3 separate regions of the Homo sapiens genome follow, and all the other regions are linked to region 1. The links are contacts of gene promoters, found by promoter capture Hi-C in human tissues and cell types (Jung and others, 2019). All regions are on one chromosome and are shown on one strand. The core of a region is centred on a gene start or on the middle of the fragment in contact, and the rest is flanking DNA. Distances in the headings are between cores, read along the strand shown.

Evidence for each region. Contacts are between HindIII fragments. The study calls those that stand out against the background at their distance.
Region 2: a fragment that was not itself captured here is called in contact with the fragment with the promoter of FGFR4 in region 1 in 1 of the 25 tissues and cell types used here (lymphoblastoid cells).
Region 3: a fragment that was not itself captured here is called in contact with the fragment with the promoter of FGFR4 in region 1 in 1 of the 25 tissues and cell types used here (dorsolateral prefrontal cortex).

What each region holds. Positions count from the first base shown.
Region 1 is chr5:177,084,343-177,088,650 of GRCh38, reverse strand. FGFR4 (fibroblast growth factor receptor 4) reads right to left here and starts at 1,736. Exons shown (of 18, transcript NM_213647.3): 1 at 1,574-1,736. RefSeq lists an enhancer at 1,220-1,670, silencers at 1,366-1,825, 2,076-2,125 and a promoter at 1,636-1,855. The HindIII fragment of the contact is 26,682 bases long and covers 1-4,308 here.
Region 2 is chr5:177,235,182-177,239,703 of GRCh38, reverse strand. It overlaps NSD1 (nuclear receptor binding SET domain protein 1), which reads right to left. Exons shown (of 23, transcript NM_022455.5): 6 at 3,759-3,883; 7 at 1,197-1,467. Among named protein-coding and RNA genes, the nearest start is that of RAB24, 66 kb to the left of the region's middle. The HindIII fragment of the contact is 9,664 bases long and covers 1-4,522 here.
Region 3 is chr5:177,290,561-177,294,928 of GRCh38, reverse strand. NSD1 (nuclear receptor binding SET domain protein 1) reads right to left here. Exons shown (of 23, transcript NM_022455.5): 22 at 2,771-2,975; 23 at 1-1,097. Among named protein-coding and RNA genes, the nearest start is that of RAB24, 11 kb to the left of the region's middle. The HindIII fragment of the contact is 5,839 bases long and covers 137-4,368 here.

The DNA of each region.
Region 1 (4,308 bases), core at 487-2,986:
GCCTCTGTTCCCCAAAATAGAACACTCAGAACTGAGTCTCAGCTGGGACAAAGGAATCGGTGACCACTGCAGTCCTAGGGGCCTATGGGTGGCACTGGTGTCTCTGGATCTACCCTGCGTGGGAAGCCTATCACACCTCCTCCTCCTTGGTCACTGCCACTCCACTTCCAGTCCATCTGGCTTCCCCTGCCCCTTCTCAAGGCAGGTCATGGCCATCTCTTGCATGGGCCTCTGGAAACATCCTCTCCCTCGGCTCTTCAACCTTCATCTTCCAGCAGAGTTTTAAAAAACTACAAGTCGGCTGGGCGCGATGGTTCACACCTGTAATCCCAGCACTTTGGGAGGCCGAGGTGGGCGGATCACGAGGTCAGGAGATCGAGAACATCCTGGCTAACACGGTGAAACCCCGTCTCTACTAAAAATACAAAAAATTAGCCGGGCGCGGTGGCGGGCGCCTGTAGTCCCAGCTACTCGGGAGGCTGAGGCAGGAGAATGGCGCGAACCCGGGAGGCGGAGCTTGCAGTGAGCCGAGATCGCGCCACTGCACTCCAGCCTGGGCGACAGAGTGAGACTCCGTCTCAAAAAAAACAAAATAAAAAAATAAAATAAAATAAAAAAACAAACAAAAAAACCTGCAAGTCTGCCATGTCATGCCCCCCAGCTTGCAAGCCCTTAATGGCTACCTGTGCCCAGCAGGATCCAGCTCAACATCCTAGGGCTCCCTCTCTGCCGCTGCCTATCTCTTTGGTCACACCGTCTGCCCCTTCAGGAGCGCTGAAGCCATTGGCTTTCAAAACTGGGCACATGTGCTCTCTTGCCCATCCCTCTGTGCCCCTCATTGCTCTTCTCTACCTGACTCAGATACTGCTGTCTCTGGCCCACCTCAACTCTCGAATCCAGTCGGATCCTCCTTGGTAAAACTCCCTACCAAGCTCGGCTTGGCAGGGAGGGCAGCTCTTTGGGTACACAGCTTGGGCTGGGAGTGGGTGGGGAGGCCCGGGGAGTTTATTCCTACCCCAGGCTGCCCTGATATCAGAGTCCTTAGTCGAGTCACCCATGGCTGCTGACCGCTGACCGACCACCCCCCACGTGGGAATGGAGGGCCTGCCTTAGGCATCAGACAGTCCTGGGTTCTCCTTCAGCCTCCCGCACTCGCGCTGGAGGCCCCCGGGCACTAAGTGACTGAACTTTTCGGGGCCTCAGGTCCCTCATCTCTGCCGCCGGCGCGAAGACAGCCGCAGGGACAAGCGCGCTTGTCCTCCCCCACCCTTGCCGGGCCAGCCTGGGGGGAGGTGCGAATCAATGGGTCCCGAGGGTAGCTGCACAGGGCCAGCCTGCCCCCGCCTCGGTGGGCAATGAGTAACCAGCTCCGCGGCCGGGGTGCTCTTTGGACGGAGCGGGACAAAAGGCCCTGTGTGCACTGCGGGTTACTGATTTACCGCCCCCTCCACCCCCTGCCGCCCGGCGGACGCCCAGGTCCCCTGCGCCGGGAGGGGCAGTCCCCGTAGCCCCGCCGCCTCTCGCCCCCTGGCGGCTGGGAGCGCAGCCCGGGCCCACAAGGGTTCCGGCTCACCTCGAGCCTGCGTGACTCCGCGCCCAGCACAGGGTCCTGCTCACCTGGCTCCTCCTCACCTGGCTCCTCCGCCGCCTCACTCCCAGCTCCAGCCGGCCGCGACCCCTGCACGCGGCAGGGTCCGCAGACAGCCCGAGCGCTCCTCGGCCGGGAGCGAGGAATGTACCCGCGACGGCGGCGTGGCCGCGAGCGGCCCACCTCCTGTCCCACCCCGCCCCTCGGGCCCGCCCCCTCCTGCTCGGGCCCGCCCCTCCTTCCACGCCCCCCCCCCCCCCACCCGGGCCCGCCCACCTCCTGCCACACCCCCTCGGGCCCGCCCCGCCTAGACCAGCTCGAGCCGGAGAGAGGTGTGGCCAGGGGTGGCCAAGATCCCCGCCCACCTGGAGAGCCCCGCCCCCGACCCAGTCAGCCCACTCCCGGGACCCCGCCCCAGCCTATACACACACCCCTACACGCAACCCCCCTATACACACCCCATTCAGGCTCCGCCTCTTTCGCCCCACCCAGGCCCCAGGCCAGGCTCCTAAATTCTAGTCTACTACCCAGCTCTACTCCTTGCTTTTCACCCTTCAGGGAATGCCTGGCTCCCCTGTCTTCTGCGCAGTGCCGTGCAGCGGATAGGAGAACCCCTTCCTTCTGCTCCCTCATTTGTTCCCTGCGCAACCTGCGGAGTGATACTTACAACACAAATCTGACTGTGTCAGCCACTCCCTTAAATTTTCCTATAGATTCCCATAGCTCTTTATACATAGATTGCCATGACCCACGCCTCCTGGCTCCCACCCTGCTACTCCTGGGCAGTTTCACGTACCATTCTCTCTTCCTGGAATGGCCCTTGGTCTGGTTAATTTCATATTATTCTCAGCTCACTTCCTTCAGGAAGCCCTCTGGACTTGCAAGCTCCTCTTAGATGACGTCTCTACTGTGAGGATGGAGAAAGAAACAGGGTGAAGTGGTTCAGAGCACAGACTACAGGGCTGGACGTCATAGGCCCAGCTCTCAGCACCATCACACAAGGCCTCAGTCTTCACTGTCCTTTCAGTAAAACAGGCAAATGATAGTCTCACCCACAAGAGGTTGTTGCAAAAAGTAGACATGTTAGCAGTATGTGTAAGCCTGGCATGCAGCGCTTGCTTTGTAATACTAGCTGTAATTATTTAGGACCTGTTATTTCTTCAGCACGCTTGCCAGAATTGTAACTGAACAGTTAATTATGTAAATAGCTGTGGAATGGCCGGGCACAATGACGGGTGCCTGTAGTTCTAGTTACTAGGAGACTGAGGTAGGAGGACAGCTTGAATTCAGGAGTGTGAGGCCAGCCCTGGCAACATAGTTGCCCTGTCTCTATTTTTCAGTAGAGGAACTGTGTCCTCAGACCTCACCATTAGAGTTCAAGTGTCTGGCATACAGTAGGTGCTCCCAGATAGCTCCGTGCCCACCTGGCTCATGTTTGCCTCACCTGTAAGCACTTCTCTCCTGAGCATCTAGACTGTGGCCAAACCAGGAGGCCAGGCAGCCTCTGATCTCTGCCCATCCCTCACCTGAATCTCAAGCCTTCTCCTTCTCTTAAGGCACCTTGAGAGGAAGGGAAATGGGCTGGGTGCACCTGTGGTCCCAGCTACTTGGGAGGCTGAGGCCAGAGGATTGCTTGAGCCCAGGAAGTCGAGGCAGCAGTGAGCCGTGATCGCTCCACTGCACTGTAGCCTGGGCAACAGGCTATGGAGCGAGACCCTGTCTGAGGCTCAGGTCCTGGTTGTCCCCTCTAGCTAGTGTAGACCCTGTCTTAAGAAGCAACTTCCTTTCTCATTGTTACGCAGGCAAGTCTAGTTCTTTCCACCCTCACTCCCAAAGGGATAGTGGCATATCTTTGCATAACTGTAAGGCCCATTAAAGAGACTTAAAATTGTTTTTTTCTTTTTCTTCTTAAGCGAAAGAATGGTCTCCTCCCAAAGATAAATCAGAAAATAATTGAGGCCAGGCATGGTGGCTCATGCCTATAATCCCAGCACTGTGGGAGGCTGAATCGGGAGGATCGCTTGAACTCAGGAGTTCGAGGCCAGCCTGGGCAACATAGTGAGATCTCGTCTCTATTAAAAATATATATTAGGCTGGGCACGGTGGCTCACGCCTGTAATCTCAGCACTTTGGGAGGCTTAGGTGGGTGGATCACGAGGTCAGGAGTTCAAGACCAACCTGGCAAGATGGTGAAACCCCAGCTCTACTAAAAATACAAAAAAATTAGCCAGGCATGGTGGCATGTGCCTGTAATCTCAGCTACTAGGGAGGCTGAGGCAGAGAATTGCTTGAACCCGGGAGGTGGAGGTTGCAGTGAGCCGAGATCGTGCCATTGCACTCCAGACTGGGTGACAGAGTGAGACTTTGTCTCCAAAAAAAAAAAAAAATATATATATATATATATATGTGTGTGTGTGTGTGTGTGTGTGTGTCTGTGTGTGTCTGTGTGTCTGTGTGTATATACATACACACAGACACACCCACACATATATATGTATATTATAAATTTTTTTTTAATTGGTTATCTTTTAAAAACAATTTGTCCTGGTTCCCTTCTCTAGAGTCCTGCCTTGCTGGAGCTCCCAGGACAGATGAGGCTCCTGGCCCTGGGAGCTGCCTGCCCAGAGGGTACCTTGCCAGACCTCCCGGACTGCTGGAGGGGTTCAGCTCCCTGCCTCTGGCCCTCTGCTGGCTCCCCTTGTGAATGTGGTTGTGGGGGG
Region 2 (4,522 bases), core at 1-2,500, 150 kb before region 1:
ATTTTTAAAAAATCTGTATACCACACAAAATGAATCTCAATGTTTTTGATGTTTTCCCCGTCATCTTATGGGAAGAGGCAGGATGGTAATTTGCTTATTATAAAATATTAGTAAACAAAACAAGTAAACAGTTTTCAATGCAAGCACCAACTAATGTGAGGGATGTGTGTGTGGTGACTTTAACTCACAAAATCACTAAGGGAGAAGTCAGAAGGACGGAACTGCCTTTATAACAACTGATTGTTGGTGAGGATAAAATAAGGAGAAGTGGAGTGAAATAGAACTTGGATCATGGTCATAAATGGACAAAGATTATAGTTTCTGCTCTGCCCCTAAGTAAATAAAATTCAATAGGTAAAAGATAATTCATAGGATCACTCAAGAATAATATAAAAGAGCTGACTTAATAGAGTTTTGGCACATAGTAGGTACTGAAATAATAACTATCTTTACTGTTCTTTCAAAAATCTTTTTTATTATACCCAACTAGTTTAAGCACAATTGGAATCGTTTCTTTAAGGAATAACATCAAAAGCTACTGTTGATAATGTAAAAAAGTTATATCCAAAATTTAAAGGGGTACAGAAAAGAGGATTCTTGCCATTCCTTGACTGACTATAATATTCAATAGTTACAAGGTGAATTAGAGACAATATGTTTAGATCCAACTCTCCCCAGGTGATATATAAAGAATGATCAAGTGAGAAGTAACTGGTAATTAACTTCTAATGAACTGGTAATTACTATGTTGTCAGGTATATAACATTACACATTAATACATTATGATCTCCATTTATAGATGAGGAAACAAGTTCAGAGATTAAACAACTTCCCAAGTAACACAAGGATTGGTGGAGCCAGCACTTGAAGCATAGTGCTTATTCCACTAATGTGCAGTACTCCTCTTGAAGCCCTGTTATCCTGGTTGTTAATTTACACAGTGGCTGATCAACAATCATGAAGAGCAACACTGGAGCAAGGAGCATAGTTATTAAAAATACATCTTCTTGATAGTGTGCCACAGTTCATGGTTAGTAACTATATCTAATTAACCATCATTTTAAGTATTTCCCAGGACAAAAGGGGGTAGTTTATTGTATATAGATACAATGTTGGCTTTACATCAAAACATACTAAAATCTCCTGCTTCCTCTAATCATATCTGCTCAAATACTGAGACCCCAACCCCACCTTACCTGGCGTTTTAACTAGCAATTCCTCAGACTCAAGGGCAGGCCGTGGAGAGACTTCCGGAGCCACAGGCACAGACAAGGTCAGCTGCGGCAACTCAGCATGTCCACCTCCAAGTTCTGACTGAGCCAAGGGGCCCTCCAAAAACGGAGCCTCCCTTTCAAGAACTGGAGGCTCTTCTTTGGTTGAAATCAAAGAATTCTCGTCCACCTGCTTGTTCTGAGCACTAGATCGACCTCGGGCTAGAAGGCTTTCCTCTTCACAGCGGGAACTTACCTAAGAACAAAAAATAAAAATAGAGTCCACAGGCCAAAATTGTTGTAATTTAAGTGTCAAAAAGAATAACACACTTTAAAAGGAATGAAATTCTGACAAAGGCTACAAAAAGTGGATGAACCTTGAAGACATTATGTATGCTAAGGGAAATTACTTAAGACACAAAGAACAAATATCGTATGATTTCAAGTATATGAGGTATCTAGAATAAGAAAATTCTTGAGACAGAAAATAGAATGGCAATTGCCAGGGGCTGAGCAGAAAAGGGAGTTATTGGTTAATGGGTATTGATTTTTAATTTGGAAAGATGAAAAAAATTATCGAGATGGATGGTGGAGATGGTTGCACAACAATCTAACTGTGCTTCATGCTACTGAACTGTACACTTAAAAATGGATAAAATAGGCTGGGCGTGGTGGCTCACGCCTGTAATTCCAGAACTTTGGGAGGCCAAGGCAGGCAGATCACGAGGTCAGGAGATCAAGACCATCCTGGCTACCATGGTGAAACCCTGTCTCTACCTAAAAATGCAAAAAATTAGCCAGGTGTGGTGGCGGGCACCTGTAGTCCCAGCTACTCGGGAGGCTGAGGCAGGAGAATGGTGTGAACAGGAGAGGCAGAGCTTGCAGTGAGCTGAGATCACACCACTGCACTCCAGCCTGGGCAACAGAGTGAGACTCCATCTCAAAAAAAAAAAAAAAAAAAGATAAAATAATAAAATTTACATTATATATATATATTTTTTTAACCAAAATTAAATGAAGTTGACTGAGATACACTGAAGCTATAATATTGATAAGTCCACAACAATAATTCAAAAGCAGGGGAAAGAGACTGCTCTAATGTCTCCAATTAAAACAACTACTAATGAACTCCTTAATGTTACAATTGGTAATTAATGGGAAAGAAAGAAGCACTTATTCTGCCTTTCAAGTATTTCAGGACAATAACAGAGTCCAATTAATGAAAGAGACTATCAGTTAATAAAAATAGAGAAAATAATAAAATCTGAAAGTCTTCATTTTGTAACCTCTAATAAAATTATTGATATAGGTAAAGATCTTCAACTGGGGTTTTCAAAAAACCATCAGGGAAGCTGGGCATGGTGGCCCACACCTGTAATCCCAACACTCTGGGAGGCTGAGGCAGAAAGATCACTGGAGCCCAGGAATTCGAGACCAGCCAGGGCAACATAGTGGGACACCGCCTCTACAAAAAAAATGTTGTCAAAAATTAGCCAGGTGTGGTAGTGTGCACCTTTGGTCCCAACTACTCAGGAGGCTGAGACGGAAACATTGCTTAAACCCAGGAGGTCAAGGCTGCAGTGAACCGTGTTCGTGCATCTCTGCACTCCAGCTTGGGCAAGACACTGTCTCAATTTTAAAAAAGAAAGAACAAACTGTCAGGGAATGGCTGATGGGAATAAAACATTTTTTAACCCTCTAATGTACAATATATTCCACATTATCATCTCTGATATAGTCTAGCTAAAAATGTTCAACTTTCAATCTATCAAACTGATAGGTTCTATCTTCCATTTGACAGAGAACAGGAGATAGAGAAAACAATCTAAGTGACACCTATGAGGAAGCAATTACACAAATACAGAAAGTAGATGACTTTATATGTCACTCTCTTATAGACATGATCATGATCATGAAAAAAGGGATTGTTCTGAATTCAAAGTGATTTGAGAACCATAACAACCAGTTACAATGAGCAGTCCTAGATTGAGTCCTGGTATGAATAATCCAAAGGTAAAGGTTAGGGGATAATTGATGAAATTTGAAAGACAGTTGATGTCAGATAAACAGATCTTATATAAGATGTAAATATGTTAAATTGATTATAAAGGAAAATGTTCCATTTTTTAACTACATATTAAACTATGTAGGGGTAGAATGTCAAGATGTCTCTATTTCATTTTAAAAAACTGAGTTGAAAAATAAGACAAATAAGATATATTTACTTTTGAAATTAGGGTCAGACTATATATATTTCACTTTATAGCCTATATTTTTACTTAAGATTAAATCATAACAATATTCCTAAGTCATTACTCTTTGAAGGCAAAGAGGGAAAAATATATACATAAATAAATACAATATGTAGATTCATTTATATATTTCCTGAATAACCACTAAATCCTAAGTACTGTGCTAGAAGCTGAGAATAAAAAACAAGATCTCAGTTAAGGAAATTATTGTTTCATGAAGATAAAGTATGACATTGAAGATAAAATTGCAGTTTCCTAAGGACCAGTGAAAGTTTGCTGAAATTTTGCAACATACCTTGTGCACCTGCTCCTGTACCTTCTTTTGTTTTTTCTTAGGAGCAAATATCTGATCATATTCTTCTGTATATTCCAAAAGCCACTTGCTTGGCTTCCTAAGGCGTTTCTTCTCTGACCGCACAGCTAAAAGATGATAAACAAATTCAACATTAATCAAAAAGCTTCAGGAAAACCCACTGTTTTTATGAGACCATCTGATACTCCCAAAAGTAACCAGATGGGAAACCACATAGTAAAATAGACTATGGCTTAAGATGCAAGAGGCACAAAATGGCTTATGTTTTCTCATATGCAAAAGGAGCTGGGGGGAGACAAAAGGACTTGTGTTACCTTATATACACAAATAATAGAATATATGTGGCCCATCCAAAATTAAGGAAAAGGTTAAATTTAAAGCCAGGTCTTATAGTCACTGACACCTGTACATATAAAGCTAATATATACCTAACAAAAATGTAGCATCTAGATCAGGTAAATAGGTAAAATACATCTTGAGTTACAGGCTAAGTATGCCTTATCTGAAACGCTTGGGATCAGAAGTGATTTAGAATTTTTCATATTTTGTAATATTTGCATATATATATAATAAGTTATCTTGGGGATGGGACCCAAATTGAAATACCAAACTCATTTATGTATTACACACATCTTCTATACACATAGCCTGAAGGTAATTTTACAAAATATTTATTTTCTACATTATACAAAGTTTGTGTACAGTGAACCATAAGAAAGCAAAAGTGTCATTATCTCAGCCACCAT
Region 3 (4,368 bases), core at 1,807-4,306, 200 kb before region 1:
TGCTGCTTTCCCAGATGTCTGAAGAGGATCTGACACACAGCCTTTCTCAACAGCTCTCGGCATATGCCCCAGACCTTTGCTGGCAGGCCATGAACTTGACTCCAACACTGGCATCTTCTCATCAGCCTGTGGTGTGACCTGATGAGGTGAAGCTGCCCGCTCCTTCTGGCGAGGAGTTAGGTCTATGAGATCCATCACCAAAGCAGCTCTATTTTTTGACTGAGTATTCTGGTCCACAGGCCTCAGTGCTTTTTCTTTAGCTACAAGGGTCTGGACCACAGCTGATAGTACTTTCTCAGGAGGTGGGAGTCTCTGGGACAAAGAGGCATGGGGTTTGTCAGTAGGCCTGTCTGAAGTCTGGGGTTTGGGACTGCTAGTAATGAGCAGTCTGTCTGGCGGCGGAAGTCTCAGGCCAGTGGGAACTGAGGTTTTCTCCAGTGACTGGGGCCTTGGGCTGGCAGCACCTATGGATTTATCCAGCCTTGGGTCAGCCGTCCCCAGAGGTCTTTCCAGTGGTTGGGACCTGACTGAGGGTGAGGAGCTTGGGCTGGTCACTGGAGAGGGTTTGTCGCTTAGCTGGGGTCTTGGTCCTGCCACTGCTGGTGGCCTGTCCAGTGGCCTCTGGCTGGAAACCAAGGATTGGGATTTGGTCCCTGACCCAGCGAGGTCTCTGACCTTATCTAAAGGCTGGGGCCTGGAGTCAGTTCTCTCAAGAGGTCTTTCAGGTAGCAATGGCCTCTGACAAGTCCCTGCCAGAGCTTTTTTGGAGAGCGACAGCATCTGGTTGGTGTCAGCAGGAGGTTTATCTGACATTTTGGGTGCCTGAGCAGCCATTCCTGTTGATTGCTCTGCCAGGTGAGTGCTTGGCCCTGGAGGCAGCGGTACTGGGGGAGGCACATACTCACGGATCTCCCCAGGTTCCAGAGGATTGGGCCCACAGGGGTCATGCTCAGTACAAGACAGACGCCCATCCAGTTTGGAAATGAAAAGCATCCCTTCTCGATGCTGCTTACAAAAGGAGCTGGGGCACATCTCACAGAAGGAGGCTGCTTCCTTCCCGCAGATGTCACACTGATGCCACGGACATTCCCATTTCCCTGAAAACACAGAAGTAAATCAAAAGTTTAGGAAAAAAGAGATACATATCACATGGGCCAAGGCTATGCTACAGTCCGAAGGTGTGGATGATGACCTTCCTTCACACTGTCCCTGCTTCAGAGAGCTTATGCCACTCACCAGCCACCTCTTGCCCCAGAATTCCAGCTTCTTTTTGTGCACAGAATACATAAAGTAACAGCGAATTATCAAATAGCAACTACTATCAACTAAATATACAAGCAGAAGAGTAAATTGGTATTTCTATGACTATTTCCAGCAAGGAGGTGAGGGGGGGGCGGGGGTGGGGACAACAAAAAGTTTCTTTTACATGAAACTTAAGATATTACTTTTATATTTTTGCAATCTCCATTTGTACTATACAGCTTTTAAATAAGCAACTCAAAGAGAAATATCCTGGTGATTTAGATTCCTGCTTATTTGCTATTAACAGTAATAGAAAAGATATAAAATCATGAAAAATGGAAGATTTACCTTTGCTCTATTTTAAGTCTTGAGATCAGCACAGCACGTTATATGTTGTTCACATGGAATCAGTAGAAAAGACCCAAAGCTGACCTAAGCTTTTACCTGCCTCCCCACATTTCATGAAACCTGAGGGTCTTGACCAGGGACAGTGTTTCCACCTTCAAATCAACTACACCAGCTCCCACTCCTGGCACACAGGCAAGATTGGTTCTATCATAGCCTGCGCCAGTGACGACCCTGAGCAGTTGATTCTGAAACAATTCTACTTCCTGGTGCTGACAGGTCAATGTGATGGCCTTGCCCTCATCCTACCTCAGTTTCTTTTATTTCATGACCCTGGCCAATATACAGTGAAGGAAAGCCAATTTGGGGACAAATTCCTTTTACTTATACCCTAAAGTTCTTAACGTTCTGCAACTCTTGGAAGCAGGTCACTAGTAATGTATAATCTCCTCACCCTGGAATGGCTCCCTACTGGTTTCTCTTTTTTGTTCATTAAAATAGATGGCATATCCAAATCCCTAAAATTCTCTAACCCCAAATCACTACTCAAAGGTTCTCAATTTCTTCAACTACAAATTTCCTGGGTACCACATCCACCTGAGCAGCTTTCTCATGTATTAACTGATACAACCAAATCTCCTTTAGAGGAAAAAAGTCTACTCTGCATGGGGGGAGACTGCACTAGGCGTAGGGGAGCAAGGTAGGAAGTGCTAAAAGGGTGGCAATCCATCTCTCACTGACTAGAACCACCTAAAGGCTTTACTATCTCAATCTTTCTTTCTCTAGAAAGGCAACATGATTTAATAGTCTTGGAGTCAAAAACCCAGCTCTCAATCCAGCTCCTCTATCTATGTGTGAAAGATCACCTCCCCAATCCTCACTCTGTTTCTTCACATGCATTATGGAAGAAAACCAACCATTATGGGCTGCTGGGGGAATGAAATAAACATGACTGTAAGTAAAGGACCTGAAACACAGCAAGTGCACCGCTGTCCCATTCTTCATAACTAAGAATTCTAAGCCTTTGCTTTCATTATTTCCAAAATAAGAAAATAGACCATACCCCTCAAAATTATGCATGGAAAGACCAAATGGCACTTTCTTCAAGGCTGATGCAAATGGCATGAGACCCTGAGTATGATGGAGAGAACGAGTAGCGGTACAAATGGATTTTGGCACCAACCTGCTGGTCGCTTGGTCAGATTGAGACAGTCTGCGTGGTAAACTTTTGGGCAGCCTGGTTTCTTGCAGGAGACGAGCTGGCCAGCATCCCCACAACTAAAACACTCATCTTCTCGCTCCTTTGTGATTTCACCCTGGGTCCTGCGCTTTCCCTGTTGCTTCTTCTTGAATTTCTTTGACTTTTCTTCCGTGGCAATGGGTTGATTCTACAGGTCAGATATTGAACAGTCAGCATTCTGTGAACACATTAGTACCAATCTTAACCGGGTTAACTACCCTCTCTGAGCCTCATTCTCTTCTCTGGGAAAAGAGATTGTCATGAAGATAAAATGCAGGAAAGGTACCTGGTACATCACAGATACGTAGCAATAATTTTTGTATCAACTACTCCTGCCACCTGAACAAAACAGAAGACAAAAATCTTTGTGTTTTTGCTGATCCATAAGGCTGGTGTTAAATGACATGCCTTTCATAAGTTTTATTAGTTAATTAATTTATTTATTTTTCAAGACGGAGTCTTGCTGTGTTGCCCAGGCTGGAGTGCAGTGGCGCGATCTCGGCTCACTGCAACCTCCGCCTGCTGGGTTCAAGCAATTCTCCTGCCTCAGCCTCCTGAGTAGCTGGGATTACAGGCGCCCACCACCACTCCTGGCTAATTTTTGTATTTTTAGTAGAGACGGGTTTTCAGCATATTGGTTAAGCTGGTCTCGAACTCCTGACCTTGTGACCCACCCGCTTTGGCCTCCTAAAGTGCTAGGATTACAGGCGTGAGCCACCGCACCTGGCCAAAGTTTCACTTTTATATTCGTCTACTTTCAGAACTAAACTAGACTTCTGTGTGTGGGTACACATGCCTATTTCTCGTTCATTCAACAAAGCATAACTGAACTTACTATAAGCAATGTGTTAAGACACAAAAAAGTTAATTCATGGTCCCTGCCGTCAATAAGACTACACATCAAGTCAAATTAGCTTCAGGTCCACCACTCCCAAGGCAGACCCTGGAGCAGCCAGCAGATGTTCTCTCTTTGTTCCCTGCAGCCCACACTTGGTCACCAAATCATCTTATCACATTCTTCATTTTAACCCAGAAACATCCAGGACCAATCTGTAAGGCTTAATGGAGGTCCACCCTATTCTGACAGACCAGTATCTACTAAGAGCACACAGTGACCTCTCTAGCATCTACCTCTGACTGACTCCTGTGAAATGCTATCCCATGCAGACATCAAGGATGCTGAAACTGACATCCGCACTACACTTAATACCATTAAGTACAGGTTAAACTGAGTTACTATTTTAATTTATAGGAAACAAGTCAACATCTTAAGGAACAACACCGTTAAACCAACAAAACTAAACAAAAAGCACAATAAAATCCAGTATAATATAGAGGTGATTCTCCTTATTTAACAAGATTAAAAAATGATCATTGAGTGCTCTTCATTTCTGGCCAGGCGCAGTGGCTCACGCCTGTAATCCCAGCACTTTGGGAGGCTGAGGCAGGTGGATCACCTGAGGTCAGGAGTTTGAGACCAGCCTGGCCAACATGGGGAAACCCCATCTCCACTAAAAATACAAAAAATTAGCCAGGTGTGG